Linked DNA regions of Homo sapiens: region 2 is linked to region 1. Evidence: promoter capture Hi-C in 16 types of primary human blood cells and fetal thymus (Javierre and others, 2016). All regions are on one chromosome and are shown on one strand. The core of a region is centred on a gene start or on the middle of the fragment in contact, and the rest is flanking DNA. Distances in the headings are between cores, read along the strand shown.

What was found. Contacts are between HindIII fragments. The CHiCAGO score rates a contact against its expected background, and 5 or more counts as called.
Region 2: a contact is called between a fragment that was not itself captured here and the fragment with the promoter of KCND2 in region 1, in 3 of 17 cell types (endothelial precursors, megakaryocytes and M2 macrophages). The highest score is 15.4, in endothelial precursors.

The regions. Positions count from the first base shown.
Region 1 is chr7:120,268,906-120,274,431 of GRCh38, reverse strand. It overlaps KCND2 (potassium voltage-gated channel subfamily D member 2), which reads right to left and starts at 1,257. Exons shown (of 6, transcript NM_012281.3): 1 at 1-1,257. RefSeq lists an enhancer at 492-561 and silencers at 1,002-1,151, 2,071-2,170. The HindIII fragment of the contact is 3,977 bases long and covers 1-1,431 here.
Region 2 is chr7:119,268,279-119,273,189 of GRCh38, reverse strand. No RefSeq gene overlaps it. Among named protein-coding and RNA genes, the nearest start is that of LINC02476, 640 kb to the left of the region's middle. The HindIII fragment of the contact is 3,722 bases long and covers 1-3,566 here.

The DNA.
Region 1 (5,526 bases), core at 8-2,507:
GAATAATGGCAACAAAATACAACGTCCTAACAATCACCCTCAACAGAACCCAGCCAAATCTCTTCCTGCAGGTGGGCTAGGCCACCCTCTGGCACAAATAAGCACACAGGTGCAGCCGTTTCTTCAAACAGGTGTTTTTGATTTCTCCCCGGCACAGTCTGGATAATATAGGGTCAGTATGTGGAGTGTAGGATAGAGAAGACGAACGAGAGTCACCCAATAGAATTCTTTCGACGAATTAGGGAACCCTTACACCTACCCTTCTCACTCTTTCAAACCTTCCTTTCCAAGTAGCCCTTCCCGCCAAAGGAGTCTCAAAAAGGCGACCTGTTGTTGTAGCTCAGGAGATGCGGTCACAGCCGCTGCCCCACGTCTCTCTTTGGGGGTCCAGCTGCTGCTGCCTCTACTCCTCGGGCTGTATTTGCAGAGATGGAGGTGATGTGCAGTGGTTACGGTGGGGGGCGTTAATAGAGATTCTCCTCCCCCACGTCTACAAACACCCTCTGTGTCTGCCAAAAGCGTTCGCCCAATCGCCCCTTCACTCTCTTTTCAAGTTCAGCTCAGGTGCAGTGTGACAGTTACAGAGCTCAGGAGCTGGCAGCCGCCGCCGCCGTGGCGGCAGCAGCATCTGCTTCCGCGCAGAACGCGCCGCTCCCGCGGTACATACCTGGCCAAGTGCGCGCCGGGGCTTAGTTGCATAGAGACTTTCTCCTCGCCGTGCACCCGGAAAGGGAAGAGGAGAGAAAGCAGCTCGCGAGCAGCCGAATCCGATGCGCCGAGAGAGCATAAATAAAGCTCAAGCGAGCTCTTCTTTCCCTTCCCCCATCCCTCCGTGCCTCCCTCCTCCTTTTCACCTTCCAAAAGCCAGGCGCAGGCGAGCAGAGCAGCAGCAACAAGTTCAAAAGGTGCGGGGGAGGCGAGAACGGAGGGGACTCGCTCCTGCCAACTTACTGCGGGGCCACTGTCGCGGGAGCCTGGCCAGCGCGGTGCGGGGCTGCGGGGCGGCGGGGCTGCGGGGCGGCCGGGCGGGCGGCGTTGGCGCGGTGGGGCCGGGGCCGGGGCCGGCACGGGCTCTCGTCCGAGCGCGGAGGCAGAAGGCGCTCGGCAGCGCGGGGGCGCGGGAGGGCTGCTAGCTGCTTCCCCGCCAGTGGGTGGTCCTGCATCTCCCCGGGCTCCCCGCGCTGCTCTGCTAGTGCGATCAATAAATAAGGAGAAAATAAATAAATAACCGCGCGCACGCCCCGCCACGCAGGTTAGGAAAGGCGTCTCCTGCCTTTCCCTCGGCTTGACCTTTCTCCGCCCCCGCCCCCTCGGGCTCCTCTCGCTCCACCCCAGCCACCCACCAACCCCGGCGCAAAATGTCACCGAGGGAGAGCATCCAGGTGGATCTGCTGGGGAGAAAAGCGAGCCTCGGATGAACAAAGGGAAGCTTCACGTGCTGGGCTGCGGTGGTTTGGTGGAGGAGAGGAGAAAGGGGACCCGTGCCTTGCTTCTGCCTCTCGAGTCCCGGTTCAAGGCGAGCGTGGGAAAATGGGGGGAAAGAGAGCGAGAGAAGCTGGGAAGGAGGGTGAGCGGAGCGGAATGCGCAGGAATTGGTTGTCTTCTGGGGGCGACTGGAAGGCAAGACCCGCAAAGCTCCGACGCGGAATTTTTAAGTGCATTTCCTCTTTCTGTTTTTATTTATTTTCAAAACCAGATTGTTAACGTTGCAGGGATTGATATGCCATCTGTCCAACTTGCCAAAAAATCAGAGACTCTCCTCGATCGAGGTCTTGACACAACTCCTTTTCCCGTCCTTTACGAATAACAGGGATGTGGAGCCCTTTTCTAAATGTCATCGTCAAGGGGCGTGCGTCTCTGAAAGTTTGCGTCCCCTTCATCCTCTCTGCGCATCACTGCGCATATTTAAAATAGTTAAAAGAGTTAAAGGTGTTCGTATGAGGGGTTACTGAGGTAGAGAGACACAGGAAAATTGTCGCTACCAACCTTTTTGTTTTTCGCGTACCCCGCCCCCGAGTCATTAGGAATCATCCTTAAAACCAAACGTAACACATACAAGCCACTAGATGGCGTGGATGGCGAGAAGTTAAATCTGCACCTAAGGTTTGGATGCTTTAGGAAGGTGAAGGATCAAAATTAACTGGTCCAACAGAGAGTCAGATCACATAAACATCCCCAAACCCCTTCGCTGCCACCCACCTTTTTTGTGTTTATGTGACATATACTACTTAGGCTTGAGTCTGCATTTGGATAGTTGTGGGATGAGATGTGGAGAGTTTCCTTTTGAAATTCCTTTGAAAATTAAATCTAGATTACTGAATCATCATCATCATAGTAATTAAGATCTTTGGCAATAATGAGGCTTCATCTGTATTGATGAAGAATAGTAGCCTAATTTCTACCTAAAAATTACTTTTCATGGCTTGGTTTGACTGCCCTTGGTTTGTAAAATAAGTGGACTGTGTGTTGTACTTTACGGAAATTGACTTTTAAGCCCTAGAGATTACAGGCATGATGTGTCAACCTTGAAAATTTGAAATGGGATACGTCAAAGAAAATATATAAACTAAAAAATGAGTATAGAAAATAACCAGAGAATTTAAAATATCCTTATCATGTACAGGATTTTCTGTAGAGATAAAAGGGTATTTTTTGTTTGTTTATTTGTTTACAGAATAGAGATTTAAGGAATCCTGTGTCAGTAGTAATGAAGTCAGAGCTAATGCACCATTTAAGTTTGAGGACAAGGAACTGAAGACACCTGCTCTTTATCTATTTGTTTAAGTGAAAGATGCTTGTTAACCAATCTATATAGCCTGCATACCTGAAAACAAACACACAAGCATGTTACCTGGAAAATGGAAATGAGGGGCTTACTACCAATTAATATAAGAAAACCAACCCCTCGTTAGTCCAAACAGTAAGGTGGCACTATGACAGGTGCTGGGCATGGAATCCAGAGGGTGGAGCGCCATGAATATTTAATCAATGCCAATAATGGCATGCTTTCCTGTAAAGATGGGGCGAGGAACCTAAATAGAGCCTTTAAAACTGTGTGGGAAACTGAATGCTTACAAATGTAAAAGTAGGAGCTTAACTCACAAAAGCCCCAAAGAAGCAAGAACATAATATGTACAGTTTTTAAGAAGGTACTGGGATCTGCCCTCCTGCATCTTCAACAAGCTTCTTGATATAGTGGAAAGAATGTGGGCTGAGAACTTAAACACATCTAAATTCAAAATCTTGCTTAAGAAATTACTTACTGGCTTTGTTTCATTTGGCAAATTACTTCTATGATTAGAAATTATAGATAATGAAATTTAACTTTTCAGGCCTGTCGTGAAGATGAAACAGGATCATACTTCTGAACACCAGTGAAATACTTAGCACATGAAGTGTACTCAATATTGGTTCTTTTTTATTGTAATGCATAATGCTAATGCAATTCATTTTATCCAGCCCGTATTTGGAATTCCCTTAGATACTTTCCATAGTTATGTATTGCTTAATGACAGGGATACATTCTGAGAAATGTGTCTTTAGGAGATTTCATCACTGTCTGAATATCATAGAGCGTACTTACACAAACTTAGGTGGTATAGCCTACTACACACCTATGCTATATGGTACAGCCTATTGCTCCTAGACTACAAACCTGCCATCATGTTACTGTACTGAACACTGTAAGCAATTTGTAACACAGTGGCAAGTATTTGAACCTCTAAACATATATATACACAGAAAAGTTGCAGTAAAAATACAGTATAAAATATTTTTAAGAACGGTACACCTTTATTTGGCACTTCCTATGAATGGAGCTTACAGAACTGGAAGTTTCTCTGGGTGATCAGTGAGTAAGTGGTGAATGAATGTGAAGGCATAGCACATTACTGTACACTTCTGTAGACTTTATAAACACTGTATATTTAGGCTATGCTAAATTTATTTTTAAAATCTTATTTTTCCTTCAATAATAAATTAACCTTAGCTTACTATCTTTTTTTACTTTAAAAACTTCAATTTTTAACTTTTTGACTCTTTTGTAATAACACTTAGCTTGAAACACAACACATTATACAGCTGTACAAAAAAATATTTTCTTTATATCCTTATTCTGTAAGTTTTCTTCTATTTTTGTACTTTTTTTGTTTTGTTTTGTTTTGAGACAGAGTGTCGCCCAGGCTGGACTGCAGTGGTGCGATCTCAGCTCACTGCAAGCTCTGCCTCCCGGTTTCACGCCCTTCTCCTGCCACAGCCTCCCGAGTAGCTGGGACTACAAGCACCTGCCACCACGCCTGGCTAATTTTTTGTATTTTTAGTAGAGACGGGGTTTCATCGTGCTAGCAAGGATGGTCTTGATCTAGACCTTGTGATCCACCCTCCTCGGCCTCCCAAAGTGCTGGGTATTTTTGCACTTTTTAAAAACTTTTTGAATGTTTTGTTAAAAGCTAGGACACAATTACACTGGCACAGACCTACACAGGGGCAGGATTATCAGTATTACTGTTTTCCATATCCACATCTTTTCCTACTGAACGTTCTTCATTCTGTCTTCAGGGACAGTAACATGCATGGAATACCAAGGCATACCAATGCCTTCTTCTGGAATACCTCTTGAAAGAGCCTGCTTCAGGCTGTTTTACAGTTAGCTTTCTTTTATAAGTAGAAGGAGTACACTAAAAAATAATGATTAAAAGTATAGTATACTAAATATATAAACCAGTAACATCGTTTATTATCATGATCAAGTATTATATATTGTACATAATTGTATGTGCTGTACTTGTGCAAGACTGGCAGCACAGCAGCATCCTCACAGACACCTGAGTAACGCATTAGGCAAGGACATTACAATGGCTGCGCATCCCTAGGCAGTAGGAATTTTTCAACTCCCTTATAATCTTTTTGTTTTTTTCCTTTCCAACTTTTATTTTAGGTTCAAGGGGTCCATGTGCAGTTTTGTTACATGGGTAAATTGCGTGCTTTAGGGGTTTGGTGTGCAGATAATTTTGTCATGCAGGTAATCAGCATAATACTCAATAGTCCCCTCCTTCTACCCTCCACCCTCAAGTAAGCCCCGGTGTCCACTGTTTCCTTCTTCGTGTTCATATGTGCTCAATGTTTAGCTCCCACTTAGCAGGGAGAACATGTGATATTTGTTTTTCTGTTTCTATGTTAATTCACTTAGGATAGTGGTCTCCAGCTCCATCCATGTGGCTGCAAAGGACATGATTTGTTTTTTTTATTGGCTGCACAATATTCCATACTATGTATGTGCTACATTTACTTTATCTAGTCCACTGTTGATGGGCATCTAGGTTGGTGTCATGTCTTTGATATTATGAATAGTGCTGTGATGAACGTACATGTGCGAGTGTCTCTAGGGCAGAACAATTTCTATTCCTTTGGATATGTATCCAGTAATGAGATTGCTGGGTTGAATGGTAGTTCTATTTGAAATTCTTTGAGAATCTCCAGACTGCTTTCCACAGTGATCATGGCAATCAAGCAAGAGAAAGAAATAAA
Region 2 (4,911 bases), core at 456-2,955, 1.0 Mb after region 1:
GAGAAAATAGGAATAAATATTTGTGATATTTGGTGAAGCAAAGTTATTTTTACTTTAAAACTAGGCAACATAAATCCTATGTATAGAGAGAAAAAAAAGGTAAAATAGACCTTAGGTTTATAATCTTTCGTCCTTCAAAAGGCATATTTACAAAAACCAAACAAATTGACCAGCTGCAGAGTGGGAGAAACTTTTTCACAAACATGTATCTTTTAATTGACTTGTATACAGACATCTAAGGAACTAATATTATTTAATAATAAAAGACAAACAACCCAATTAACACACACCAAAAAACCCAAAAGATTTGACCATTTTTCCAAAGAAGCTATGCAAATGGCCAATAATCACATGAAAAAAAGCCAACATCACTAGTTATCATATAATTGCAAATTCAAAAATCAAAATTATATGTCACTACATATTCACTACAATGGCTAGCATTAAAAAAAAATGGTATCAAGTACTGGCAAAGAAGTAGACCAAATTAAACTTCCAAATGCTGCTGATGGGAATACAAACTGGTACAGACACTTTGGAAACACTTTAGCAGTATCTTAATTTAAATATGAATTTAATATGCTACCTGGCATTTTTGCTTATTGGAAGTTATCCAAGACAAATGAAAACACAAATCCACCCAAATATGTACGAAAAATATTGTTAACTGCTTTATAGATCATATCCCCAAAGCTATAAATAACACAACGTTCCAACACTAGGAATGAATAAACACACTATTCTGTGTTCATCACAAAAATCATATGAGATAAATGTCATTTTCTCAGGTATGGGTTGCATTGTTTCCCAAATTCAAATGTTGAAGCCCTAATGCCCAATATATAATGATGTGGCTGTATTTGGAGATAGGGTCTTTGAAGAGGTAACTAAGTTAAAATGGGGTCATTAGCACGGGCCCTAATCCAATATGACTTGTGTCCTTTTCTTATGCAGAGGGTATTAGGACACAGACAACAGAGACAAATAAACCATATGGGGAAAAAAGGAAAGGTTGGCAATATAAAAGTCAAAGAGGGAGGCCTCAGAGAAAACTAAACCTGCTGACACCTTAATCTTGGATTTTTAGCCTCCAGATTTATGAGAAAATAAATTTCAGTTGTTTAAGCTACCCAGGCTGTGCTATTATGTTATGGCACTCTTAATAATATAATATACCCCCATTTGTAGTAGAACAAGTGGAATAAATATACAACAACCTCTCAAGTTGATGTGTTCAGAAACGTCTAATTTCACATTCAAATCCACATCTGAAATTTCAAAGATTATTTTTATTTTACTACACTGTACTGCTACCTTTCTTTGTCTCTTTCTTTCATAATAAATAGTACTATTAAAATTGTAGTTTTCCTTCAAGATGATAGATTTGAGGCTTTTAGCATGTCTCAGCTAATTGGAAATAGCGTGATAGTCCATAAAGATAAACTTTGTGAGCTTTAAGTCAAAAAGGAAAATGGGAATCCACTAGATTTTTGAAGGAAACCCCAGGTCATGGGGAGAAGAACATGGGTAAACAGCCTCCGTAAGTGTCTGGCCGAGTGAGTAAAGCCCAGGAGACAGGCAGAGACCCTCCGGCTGTGACTCACTTTTCCAGTGGGGATCCAAGCAACTCAGGCCAAGGGAGAGCATGTTGTTTCTTTCAAGCCCTGGAGCTAACTTGCAGAGAGGCTTGGAGACACTGTGAGGAAAAGGCACCTGGAAGAGCTGCAGACATTTTCTCAGACGCAGGATCAAGAGCAGTACACCATTTTTAATTCAGGCACATACACAATTACACATCTCTTGGTGACTCGGCAGCATGGCTGCTCAGTCATTTCAGTCTTGGGCCAGAGATTGGAGTGCTAATCTGGAGCAGGGTAGGGACTTACACAGCCAGACCTGTGGAAAGCGCATCGGGAAATGTAAGTGCTGAAATTGTGCTCTCCCCTGTCACAGGCCTGAGGCAGGAGAGCTGCTACAGTGGTAGTTTCTCCTGGGCAATGACACTTGTAGCCAGCGTCAGGTAGGCAACCTGCAACCAGTCTGTGTGTGCCACTGCAGGGCACCCCAGCCTGCTCTCCTGAGACAATGATGCAGCAGGGCCCTCTCTAGTCCACCTGCAAGCAGAAATCCAGGCACTTGGAGTAACTTCTTGCCTGGATCAGCAGTCTGAGATGCCCTACTTCTCGTGGAAACAGACTGTGGGACAGTCAGGACCTCGCCCGTCCACACCCAGGCATTCAGAGCAAATGTTTGCCTGGCTCAGCAGCCTGAGATGCCCCACCCTTCCTGGGCATAGATCGTTGTGTAGTGGGGCTCTCTCCACTCCACACCTAGGCAGATCTCCAGGCATTCAGAGAACCTACTTGCCTGGTTCAGCAACCTGAGTCACCACATTTCTCCTGTACAGAGATCCTGGTGCAGAGAAGTTCTCTACACTCCACACCCAGGAAGGTTTTCAGATATTCAGAACACACGTTCACCTGGTTCAGCAAGATGAGCTAACCCACCCTTCACGTGCAGAGATCTTGGTGCAGGAAGGCCTTCTCTGCTTCATGCCCAGGCAGATCTCCAAGAATTCGGAGCACTAGTTCACTTGGACCAGCAGCCTGAGTGGCCTACCTCTCCTGTGCAAAGATCTTGGTGCAGAGGGCCACTTAACATTTGACGCTCAGGAAGATCTCCAGGCACCCGAAACAATCTCAAAGATTAGTAGTTTAGGCTGCCCCATTCCTATGCAGAGACCCTGGGGCTGAGAAGGCTTCCCAGCTCTACTCTTAGACAATCCTCTGGGGGCTTAGTGGCTACTTTGGATTCTCCCTTGGTGTTGGTGATTTTGCCTGCCATCGGGGGACTTGTAGGCAGACCTGCCAGGTCTAGGCCCTCATCGTGGGCCTTGCCCTCCTAAGGATGAGAAGGGAACTCAGACCACTGTGCATTCCACGAAACAGCCCATTGCTTGAGGCAAAAGAGGGTTACTCACAGTAAACAAGAATAAAGTATATACCCATCTACAGCGACAAAGCCGGCTCTTACCTATATGCGCCATCTGCTGGCTGATGGGTCAAACTGCACAGCCCAATATAAAACCTACTGACGGAAGTGCACAGGGCTGCAGAAGCAAAGCCAAAATATTCTACTCAGCATTCTCTACAGTCACACCCCATAGGGAGGGATGGAAAGGGAAAGGGAAAAAATATATACAGAGATATTAGTACAGGGGGAAAAGTAAAAAAAGATTCTACCAGTATGATAATAATTACATATTTAGGAAGGAACCAGTGCAATAATACTGGCACCATGTAAAATCCAAATGCAACAACGTCATCAAAGAAGGGCATTAGTTATCCAGCAATGGTCCCTAACCAACATGGAAACTCATAAATAACAGAAAAGAATTCAAAGCATAGATTGCAAAAAAGCTCAATGAGATCCAAGAAAAGTTTGAAAATCAACACAAAGAAACTTCTAAAGAAATCCAGAAAATGAAGAAAAAGATAAAAATCTTAAAATCACCAGAGATTTTTAAATTGAGAAACTTAAAAAATTTCAAAACACACTTGAAAGCTTTAACAACAGATTGGATCAGGCAGAAGAAATAACTTCAGAGCTTGAACACCAGAGTTTCAAACTAACACAGATAAAAATAAACAAAAAATTCAACAGAATCTTAGAGGAATATAGGATTATGTAATGTGGCTAAATCTACAAATTACTGGCATACCTGTGAGAGAAGGGAAAAAATAAACAACCAAGAAAACTGGATATTTGAGGAAAGAATTCAAGATAATTGATGGGATAATTCATGAAAATTTCCCTAATCTTGCTAGAGAGATAGACATCCAGATAGAAAAAAATCCACAGAACACTTGCAAGAAACTATACAAAGTAAACATCACCAAGGCATATAGTCACCAAGGTCAACATTCAAGAAAAATTTTTCAATGCAGCTAGAGAAAAAGACCAGATCACATACGGCAGGCTAATAGCAGGCTTCACAGCGGAAACGTTAGAAGCCAGAAAAGACTAGGGACCATTTATTAGCATTCTAAAGAAAAGAAATTGCAATCAAAAATTTAACATCCCACCAAACTAAGCTTCATCAGCAAAGGAGAAATAAAATCTTTTCCAGATAAGCAAGCACCAAGGCAATCCATTACCACAAGATCAGCCTTATAAGAGATCCTTATGGGAGTTTTAAACATAGAAGCAAATGAACAATACCTGCTACCACCAAAAACACACTTAAATGCATAGTCCACCACAGTACCTATATAGTAACCACAAAATAGAAACTACAAAGCAACTAGCTAACGACTTCACAATAGGATCAAAACTTCACATATTAATGTTAACTTTGAAGGTAAATGGTCTAAACTCCCCATTTGAAAGGTATAGACTGGCAAGTTGGATTAAAATAACAAGACTCGTTCTGTGCTGTCTTCAAGAGAACCAACTCATATGTAAGGACAATCCTGGGCTCAAAGTAAAGAATTATAGAAAAATGCAGATGTCTATCTTCTTATAGTAGATACAACATACTTTAAGATAACAACAGTAAAAAATGACAAAAAAGTGCATTACATAAAGATAAAGGGCTCAAATTCAACAAGAGGAATTAACTATCAAAAATATACATACACTCAACATGAGAGTACCTAGATTCATAAAACAAGTACTTCTAGACCCAAGAAAAGAATTAGCAAGTCACACAGTAATAGCACAGGATTTCAGCACTGACAGCATTAGATAGATCTAGCAATAAATTAACAAATAATTTCTGGACATAAATTAGACACTTGACCAACTGTACCTAATAGACATCTGCAGAACACTCTATCCACCAACCACAGAATATACATTCTTCTCATCTGCACACAGAAAATACTCCAAAACTAACCACATACTCATAAA